Regions from separate parts of the Homo sapiens genome. Here region 2 is linked to region 1. The links are contacts of gene promoters, found by promoter capture Hi-C in human tissues and cell types (Jung and others, 2019). All regions are on one chromosome and are shown on one strand. Each heading gives the region's core, a stretch centred on a gene start or on the middle of the fragment in contact. The rest is flanking DNA. Distances are from core to core; before and after follow the strand shown.

The links. Contacts are between HindIII fragments. The study calls those that stand out against the background at their distance.
Region 2: a contact is called between a fragment that was not itself captured here and the fragment with the promoter of DCST2 in region 1, in 1 of the 25 tissues and cell types used here (dorsolateral prefrontal cortex).

What each region holds. Positions count from the first base shown.
Region 1 is chr1:155,031,925-155,036,310 of GRCh38, reverse strand. It overlaps DCST2 (DC-STAMP domain containing 2), which reads left to right and starts at 2,530. Exons shown (of 15, transcript NM_144622.3): 1 at 2,530-2,877; 2 at 3,047-3,217; 3 at 3,543-3,644. The coding sequence starts at 2,610. It overlaps DCST1 (DC-STAMP domain containing 1), which reads right to left and starts at 2,487. Exons shown (of 17, transcript NM_152494.4): 1 at 2,457-2,487; 2 at 2,214-2,339; 3 at 1,751-1,876; 4 at 1,584-1,658. The coding sequence starts at 2,274. The HindIII fragment of the contact is 8,066 bases long and covers 1-4,386 here.
Region 2 is chr1:153,915,474-153,919,859 of GRCh38, reverse strand. The region is part of intron 1 of GATAD2B (GATA zinc finger domain containing 2B); the gene reads left to right. Among named protein-coding and RNA genes, the nearest start is that of GATAD2B, 5.3 kb to the left of the region's middle. The HindIII fragment of the contact is 5,978 bases long and covers 1-4,386 here.

The DNA.
Region 1 (4,386 bases), core at 1,281-3,780:
AAACATGTTTGAATACAGTGGGTCAGAGAAAAAGTAGTCTCCTGTTGGTATCCAGCAGGATTAATTCAATAAACAGGTGATGAAATGCTAATTCTATTTCCCTTGCCTGGGACAGGTTCAGGAAAGGGCATGTGTTGCACGCAGTTCTGACCAAAGAGATGTGAGGAAGTCTACTGTGGGGATTATAGGCAAGTTTCCCTTGTTCCTAAAAAGAGACATGAGGAAAGGATGTTTCTTCCTTTTTTTTTTTTTTTTTTTTTTTTGAGACAGAGTTTCACTCTGTCACCTAGGTCATTTTCCTTTTTCCCTGGCCTCAAATCGCACAGCCCAAGACAGTGAAGTTGGGCCTGGGATTGAACTTCTATTCTTTTCTTTTTTTTGAGATGGCCTTTCGCTCTTGTCACCCAGGCTGGAGTGCAGTGGCACGATCTCCACTCACTGCAATCTCTGCCTCCTGGGTTCAAGCAAGCCTCCTGCCTCAGCCTCCCAAGAAGCTGGGACTACAGGTGTGCACCACCACATCCGGCTAATTTTTGTATTTTTAGTGGAGACAGGGTTTCACCATGTTGGCCAGGCTGGTCTCAAACTCCTGACCTCAGGTGATCCACCCGCCTCAGCCTCCCAAAGTGCTGGGATTACAGGCGTGAGCCATTGTGCCTGGCCTGTTTCTTCCTCTTTTTTTATTTTTTTCTGATCTTTGATATTATTGTATGAAGATGTGATGCCAGAGTTGCTGCAGCTATCTTGTGACCTGAAGAGAAGTGGTCAATAGACTGAAGATGGCAGAGAAAAGACAGAAGGAACCTGAGTCCTTCTCGAAGCTACTGAGCTGTTAAATTATCCAAACTGGGCTGGGCACGGTGGCTTACACCTGTAATCCCAGAACTTTGGGAGGCCGAGGCAGGTAGATCTTTTGAGGTCAGAAGTTCGAGACCTGCCTGGCCAACATACAGAAACCCCGTCTCTACTAAAAATACAAAAATTAGCTGGGCATGGTGATGGGTGCCTGTAATCCCAGCTACTTGGGAGGCTGAGCAGGAGAATGGCTTGAACCTGGGAGGTGGAGGTTGCAGTGAGCTGAGATTGAGCCACTGCACTCCAGCCTGGGCAACAGAGCGAGACTCCGTCTCAAAACGAAAACAAAAACATACAAACAAAACCAAAGCAAAACGGCTGGATGCTTGTCATCCTTGTTTACTGCTAAATCCTCAGCAGATTCTCAGTAAGTGCTGAGTGAATGAATGAATGAATGAATGAATTTAATTTCTTAGGAGGATCAGAAAACGAGGTCAGACAGGTCAGGAGAGATGAGAGTTATGAAGGGTTATGGGGTTGGACTATATCATGTGGGTGATGGGGAGTCCCTCGGAATGGAGAGACTCCCTCAGGGCAAGGACGGTGTCTTCCTTCTTAAATTGGCAGCCTCTTCCCTCTGGACCTCCCCGTAAAGCCCAGGAGGAGGCGGAAGCCACAGGGGATGTATGGGTACAGAAGAAACAAGTCCCGACTCCTTCCTGGGCATGCAGGACGGCGCTGTGTTCCACAGGCCGCTTGAGTGTTCCTGGCTTTTGCCCAGCACTAACCCACCAAGCTGTACAAGAACATAATCTTCTGTTCTTCGTAGATGTTCATGGGGTTCACCAGGAGCTGAAAGAGACCTAAGGGCACAAGGTCAAGCCAAAGGCCAAAAGATGGGTCCTAGCCCTGGTCCAGCCTCTGCCCACCCCGAACTTTCTGCTTCCACACTCACCTATGGCCAGGAGCCCCCCAGCGCCTGCCCCCAGCAGGAGAGCAGTGACAGGAAACTCGCCCGGCTGGCGCCACAGGAACCAGCTACAGGAGACTGGCAGCCCCCAGGTCAGGAGCCTCTGCACCGCTAAGAGGGGGACAGGGTAGCTCAACAGCCCACTCTTCTGCCTGGGATGGGGCTCATTAGGATTCAGGGCTTGCAGGTGGATAGAGGCTGGGGAAACCTGGCATGTGAAACAGTAGGAACTTAGGGGACCCTGGAGGAGGATGAGGGAGCCTGAGGAAGTGGTATGGGTGTAAGGGACAGCAAAGGCAAGGGCTGGGCTGGGAGGCGGGAGGCACTAGACCAGAGAGGTGGTGGAGGCGCGGACACCGAGTTGGGGGATAGTGTGCAGGAGTTCCAGGAGGAGAGATGGGATGAGAGTGGAGGTCAAGGGATACTGGGTCTCTGCTGAGTGACTCACTGGTATGAGGCTGTTTTCTTCTTTGCCCTCTTGTGCCATTCTGATGATGTTTAATGTCCATGAGTCTGTTTTGGGGAAGCACCACTCATCCCAGGTCTCCTGAAGGACCTCCTTGGACACAAGGTTCTGGTGAGAGAAGAGAGGTGCTGCCTGTCTCTTCCGCTTCATGGGAAGCCTAGGCCTGAGCTCTGGGCCTTTTAATCCTTCTGCTCCGAGAAGTGGGGAAGGAGATTAGAGACCTACCTATCCCCTCTCCAGTCCTCGGAACTGGGTCAAGGATTCCAAGACATATGCAGTGAAAGCCCTTTGGAACCTTAGAATACGGTGAGAAATTCCAGGAGCACAGAAGTCAGCGGGCATCTCCTGGAGACAGGCAGACATTTGGTCTCAGCAGCCATGCCCAAAGTCATGAAGGATGTTGTGCACCCCTTGGGGGGAGAGGAGCCTAGCATGGCGAGAGCTGTGGTTCGCAGCGTGGGAGGTTTTACCCTGGGCTTGTCTTTAGCCACGGCCTACGGGCTTCTGGAGCTACTGGTGGAAGGCCACAGCCCCTGGGGTTGCCTGGTGGGCACCCTCACTTTGGCTGCCTTCCTTAGCCTGGGCATGGGATTCTCTCGCCAGGTCCGAGCCACTGTCCTCCTGCTGCTGCCTCAGGCCTTCTCCAGTGAGCTTGGCACCCAGGGCTAGGGGGCAGGTCCTGGGGCTGGTGCTGGGGCAGAAGAGATGCTGGAGGAGAGGCAGGGGTTAAGGGAAATATTCTGAAGGCTTATGTAAGGGACTTGCTGCCATGTTTGGGGCTGGGGTCTTGGTTCTAACAAAGCTGTCGCCCCCAGGGCAGGGCCGGACACTACTGTTGGTGGCTGCTTTTGGGTTGGTGCTTCAAGGGCCTTGTGCCAACACTCTACGCAACTTCACCCGGGCCAGCGAGGCTGTAGCCTGTGGGGCAGAGCTGGCCCTGAACCAGACCGCCGAAGTGCTACAGAGGGCCAAGCAACCTCTTGTCAGTAAGTCCCCCACCTCTACCACTGTCTCCCACGGGCCCCCCTCGCCCCCCTCATCCTGCATGTTCTACAGTCCTTTGGCCTCCTTCTCTGCTGGTGCTAATCGCGGAGCATCTGGGCCTGGAAGGGACTCTGGGCACAGCTAAACCCTCTCTCCTTGCTCTCTGGCCTCCTCCACTCCCAGATTAACGATCTCCCAGGCCCCAGAATCCAGGCTTCCCGCCTCTGGAAATGGTGGCCTCCTCTCTACTCCCTGCTTAAGGGGCAATGGTGAGAACCAGCCCCTAGAGGAGAAGACTCCAAAGTGCCTCTGTCCCTCACCCATCAGGTGCCCTGAACAAGATTAAAGCTATTGCCCGGAAGACCAAAGAGGTGGCTGACCGGGTCCGCAAGTTCTTTCGGTCAATCATGGATGGTGTGAAACACATAGGTAAGCACATTAGCATGTCTATCCCGGGGACTCAAAATGCACCCAGTCCTGGCCGGGTGCGGTGGCTCATGCCTGTAATCCCAGCACTTTGCGAGGCCGAGGTGGGAGAATCACTTGAGCCCAGGAGTTTGAGACCAGCCTTGGCAACATGGCGAGACCCTGTCTCTATAAAAAATAAAAAAATAGAAAATAAATAAAACTAGCCAGATGTAATGACACATGTCTGTAGTCCCAGCTACTGGGGAGGCTATGGTGGAAGGATCTCTTGAACCCAGGGGTTTGAGGCTGCAGTGAGCTATGATCGTGCCACTGTACTCCAATCCAGCCTGGGTGACAGTGTGAGACTCCATCTCTAAAGAAAAAAAAAAGCGGGGGGGCCAGGTGCGGTGGCTCACACCTGTAATCCCAGCACTTTGGGAGGCTGAGGCGGTGGATCAGGAGGTCAGGAGATCAAGACCATCCTGGCTGACATCGTGAAACCCCGTCTCTACTAAAAATACAAAAAGTTAGCCGGGCGTGGTGGCACGCAGCTGTAGTCCCAGCTACTCAGGAGGCTGAGGCAGGAGAATCTCTTGAACCCAGGAGGCGGAGGTTGCAATGAGCCGAGATCACTCCACTGCACTCTAGCCTGGGCAACAAGAGCGAAACTCCATCTCAAAACAAAACAAAACAAAACAAACAAACAGAAACAAAAAAATTCAGTCTCCTCACCTGTACCCTGTCCAGGGTTTTTTGGGCCCCT
Region 2 (4,386 bases), core at 748-3,247, 1.1 Mb after region 1:
ATATCAAGGCACAATAGCCAGACATTTTCTGAGGTAGTTTGGAGGGAAAGAAAAAGTAAAGACACACACCCAGATTGACTGTAAATCTAGTCCTGGCATAAAGCTGTCCACCTCTTGCTTGGGGAAAAAATCCAGTCTATCAGACAATACCACATAGAGTTGCAGTTCTCCTGCTTTTGGCTAAGCCTAGGAAAAGATATATAAGGAAGTTCAGTTTATGTTACAATGACTGGATTTTGTGGTGTATCTTCTATTAGCCATATTATTTGGTTTATCCTCAGTAGTCTCTGTGAAGCTTTTTCTGTAGGTCCTGTTTGGGGATTTTGGTGGCTCCAGAATCCTTGAAGCAGCAACCTCCTTTCTTTGTGTAGCAGTGATGAAAGCTTCTGAAGAATAGGTCTGATTTGAAACAGACCCCTCCTCATGTTCCATCTTTTACCTTCTCCCTTGTGGATATATGAAATATTCCTGTATAGCTTGAATTCATCCAGTAAGAAGGGAGTGTCCCAGGGTCATTAGGGCTTTTAACCTGTCTGAGGTATTTAGATGGTGGCTTGGTAATGTTTGCTGTCTCTCACAAAATCCCCCTTACCTTTGCCATTTACCTAGGTTGCCATCAGCTGGCAAGAAACTATCAACAGTTTTGGGTTATAGTACAAAAAGCAGCAGATTACTAAGAACACATCATTCGTTACTTTTGAGATATGAAGTGGTCAGATCCAGACCTCAAAGAATCATAGTAACTGCAGAAGCATCTTTGACAATGTGTGAACTTGTTATTAATAATAACTAGTAAACTGCTAAAGAAATTAAGGGAAATTATAGCAATTCCATATTCCTGAGCCATTCTCTTACTGTTTTTCACACCTGGCTAGTTCCATTTTATTTTATTTTATTTTATATTTTTTGAGATGGAGTTTTGCTCTTGTTGCCCAGGCTGGAGTGCAGTGGTGTGATCTCAGCTCAGTGCAACCTCTGCCTCCTGGGTTCAAGTGATTCTCCTGCCTCAACCTCCCAAGTAGCTGGGATTACAGTCACCTGTCACCATGCCTGGCTAATTTTTGTATTTTTAGTAGAGACGGTTTCACCATGTTGGCCAGGCTGGTCTCGAACTCCTGACCTCAGGTGATCTGCCCACCTCAGCCTCCCAAAGTGCTGGGATTACAGGCATGGAGCCATTGTGCCCGGCCTTAGTATCCATTTAAAAAAATAATTCAGGTTACTGTTACCTAAAGCTGAGAGTCGTACTTTAAATCTTTTGATCAAAGCTTTCTTCGGCTTGTCTCATTTCAAGGGAGGGTGGAATTTATAATCTTTAAAAATACATGCTGGAATGTTAGTAGGATTTAGATTAGACACCAGGATTAATAAATTCTCATTATAATTGTGAAGGATTGCAAATGTTAACTGAAAGACTTGTGCATCTCTTGCCCAGAGGATTTTTATAATGTTAGCATTTTTAGAGTATTTAAACTCAAACTTGCTGAAAGAGAGGGGATGAACTAATATGTGGCAGATTGGACTAGTGGAACACAGGTTGTGGAGAGCCTTGAAGTCCTGGGTTGAATTCTAGCTTTGTGATTTATTAGCTAACTGATTTTGGGTAATGCTACTAATTTTTGAATTCTCATTTCTTGCAGACAGAGTAATGCCAGTCCTTGCAATAGCCTTTAAGGCTTTACATGGTTTGCCCTCCCCAACCTCTTCCATTTTTGATCGGCTGTCATCTTCCCTCTTGCTCTCTCCATTCCAGCCACACTGACTTGCTCCTTGAATGCTGATCAGTCACACTCTATCTTAGAACCTTGGCAGGTTCCTAAGACCAAGTGATTCCTTCTAGTGGGAAAACAGCTAGGTTTCCCCACAGAGAATGGCTGATTGCCTCACCTCCTTAACGTCTTTGCTTAAATGTCACCTTTTTAATGAAGTCTTATCCTTCCTTTCTTTAAAATTGTATTGTCAGTTCCCATCCCTCATGCTTATCCTTGCCTGCTCTATTTTCTTTTTCATAGGACTTAACACTTTTATAATATATTTATTTGTTACATTTATTGCCTATTGGTTCTCTTTCTATGATGTAGGTCTTAGAAGGCATGGATTTGTTTTGGTAATTTGTTTAGTGCCTAGTACAGTGCCTGGCATGTAGTTAATAATAAATGTTTGTTGGCCGGGGTTGGTGGCTCATGCCTGTAATCCCAGCACTTTGGGAGGCTGAGGCGGGCGGATCACATGAGGTCAGGAGTTCGAGACCAGCCTAGCCAACATGGTGAAACCCCGTGTCTACTAAAAATACAAAAATTAGCTGGGCGTGGCAGTGGGCACCTGTAATCCCAGCTACTTGAGAGGCCGAGGCAGGAGAATAGCTTGAACCTGGGAGGTGGAGGTTGCAGTGAGTCGAGATTGCACCATTGCACTCCAGCCTGGGTGATAGCGTGAGACTCAGTTTCAAAAAAAAAAAAAGATATGTGGGGCATGGTGGCTCACACCTGAAATCCCAGCACTTTGGGAGGCCGAGGCGGGTGTATCATGAGGTCAGGAGTTCAAGACCAGCCTGGCCGAGATGGTGAAACCCCATCTCTACTAAAAATACAAAAATTAGCCAGACATGGTGGCAGTTGCCTGTAATCCCAGCTACTCGGGAGGCTGAGGCAGAGAATTGCTTGAACCCAGGAGGTGGAGGTTGCAGTGAGCTGAGATCGTGCCATTGCACTCCAGCCTGGGTGACAGCGTGTGACTCAGTTTCAAAAAAAAATAGGCCGGGTGCGGGGGCTCACACCTGTATTCCTAGTACTTTGGGAGGCCGAGGGGGGTAGATCACGAGGTCAGGAGTTCAAGACCCGCCTGGCCAAAATGGTGAAACCCCATCTCTACTAATAATACAAAAATTAGCCAGACATGGTGGTGGGCGCCTGTAATCCCAGCTACTCGGGGGGCTGAGGCAGAGAATAGCTTGAACCCGGGAGGCAGAGGTTGCAGTGAGCCGAGATTGTGCCACTGTGCTCTAGCCTGGTCAACAGAGTGAGACTCTCTCTCAAAAATAAATAAATAAACAAATAAAAGTTTGTTGATCCAATAGGAATAAAAATAACCTGTCATACTAATCTCATGTTTGTATGTAACAAAAGTATGAAATACAAGCATAAAATGTTTTGTGAACTTTAAAGCATAATGCAAATAATGATGAAATTATTGCCTTCCCGTTAAAATGGTAAAATACACTTGATTATTGAAAAAAACTTCATATATATTCAATATATTATCATTTCTCTCCTAAACTCCAGCCCTTTGTTTCCGGTTGTCTACTGTGAGCTAGACGTATCTATACCTTTGTATCAAGTTGGTACTCAAACTCAACATTTCCAACATCATTTCTTCCCTGTGATTCATTGAGTCATCTAAACCAGAAATGTGAGCATCATTGTCACTTCTGTCTTACCTATTACTTTCTAAATATTTCTGAATCTAGCTTCTTCTGTGTCTCCATTGCTGTTCTCATTCAACAGCTCTTATTTTGGGATATTGCCTTGATCGCTTACACATCTGTTTATAGTCTTACTCTCTTTTTCTTTTTTTTTTTTTTTTCTTGAGGTGGAGTCTCACTCTGTCACTGGAGTGCAGTGGTGCAATCTTAGCTTACTGCAACCTCCACCTCCTGGGTTCAAGTGATTGTTCTGCTTCAGCCTCCTGAGTAGCTGGGATTACAGGTGTCTGCCACTACACCCAGATAATTTTTGTATTTTTAGTGGAGACGAGGTTTCACCATGTTGCCCCAGGCTGGTCTCAAACTCCTGACCTCAAGTGATCCGCCCACCTGGGCCTCCCAAAGTACTGGGATTACAGGCGTGAGCCACCGCACCCGGCTGTCTTATTCTCTTGTAAACTCTCTATCATCGTGCCTTCAAAATAGTCTAACACTTACTGATTATTCTACTTTCCTCATCTTAAAAGTATTTAGTAGTTTCCAGTTATTAAAAGATTAAAATGTAAACTTTGAGTGGTATTCAAGGCCCTTTATGTTGTTGGTGTTTGCCTTCCTATCCAGCCCTACTTCTGTACCTTATAGTTAATGTGTGAGCAAATACAGTGGTTTTTCTTTTCTTTTTTTTTTTTTTTTTTTTATATAGACAAGTTCTGGCTCTGTTGCCCAGGCTCCATGGAGCACAGTGGCACGATCTCGGCTCACTGCAACCTCCACCTCCTGAGTTCAAGTGATCCTCTTACCTCAGCCTCCTCAGTAGCTGGGTCTATAGGCCTGTGCCACTTTGCCCAGCTAATTTTTGAAATACAGTTCTTTTTAATTACAGGTAGCTTCTGAATCTCATAAAGAATGCCACTTCTTCTGGGAAACCTTCCCTGACTTGCCCAAAGAGAGTTAGATACATTTTC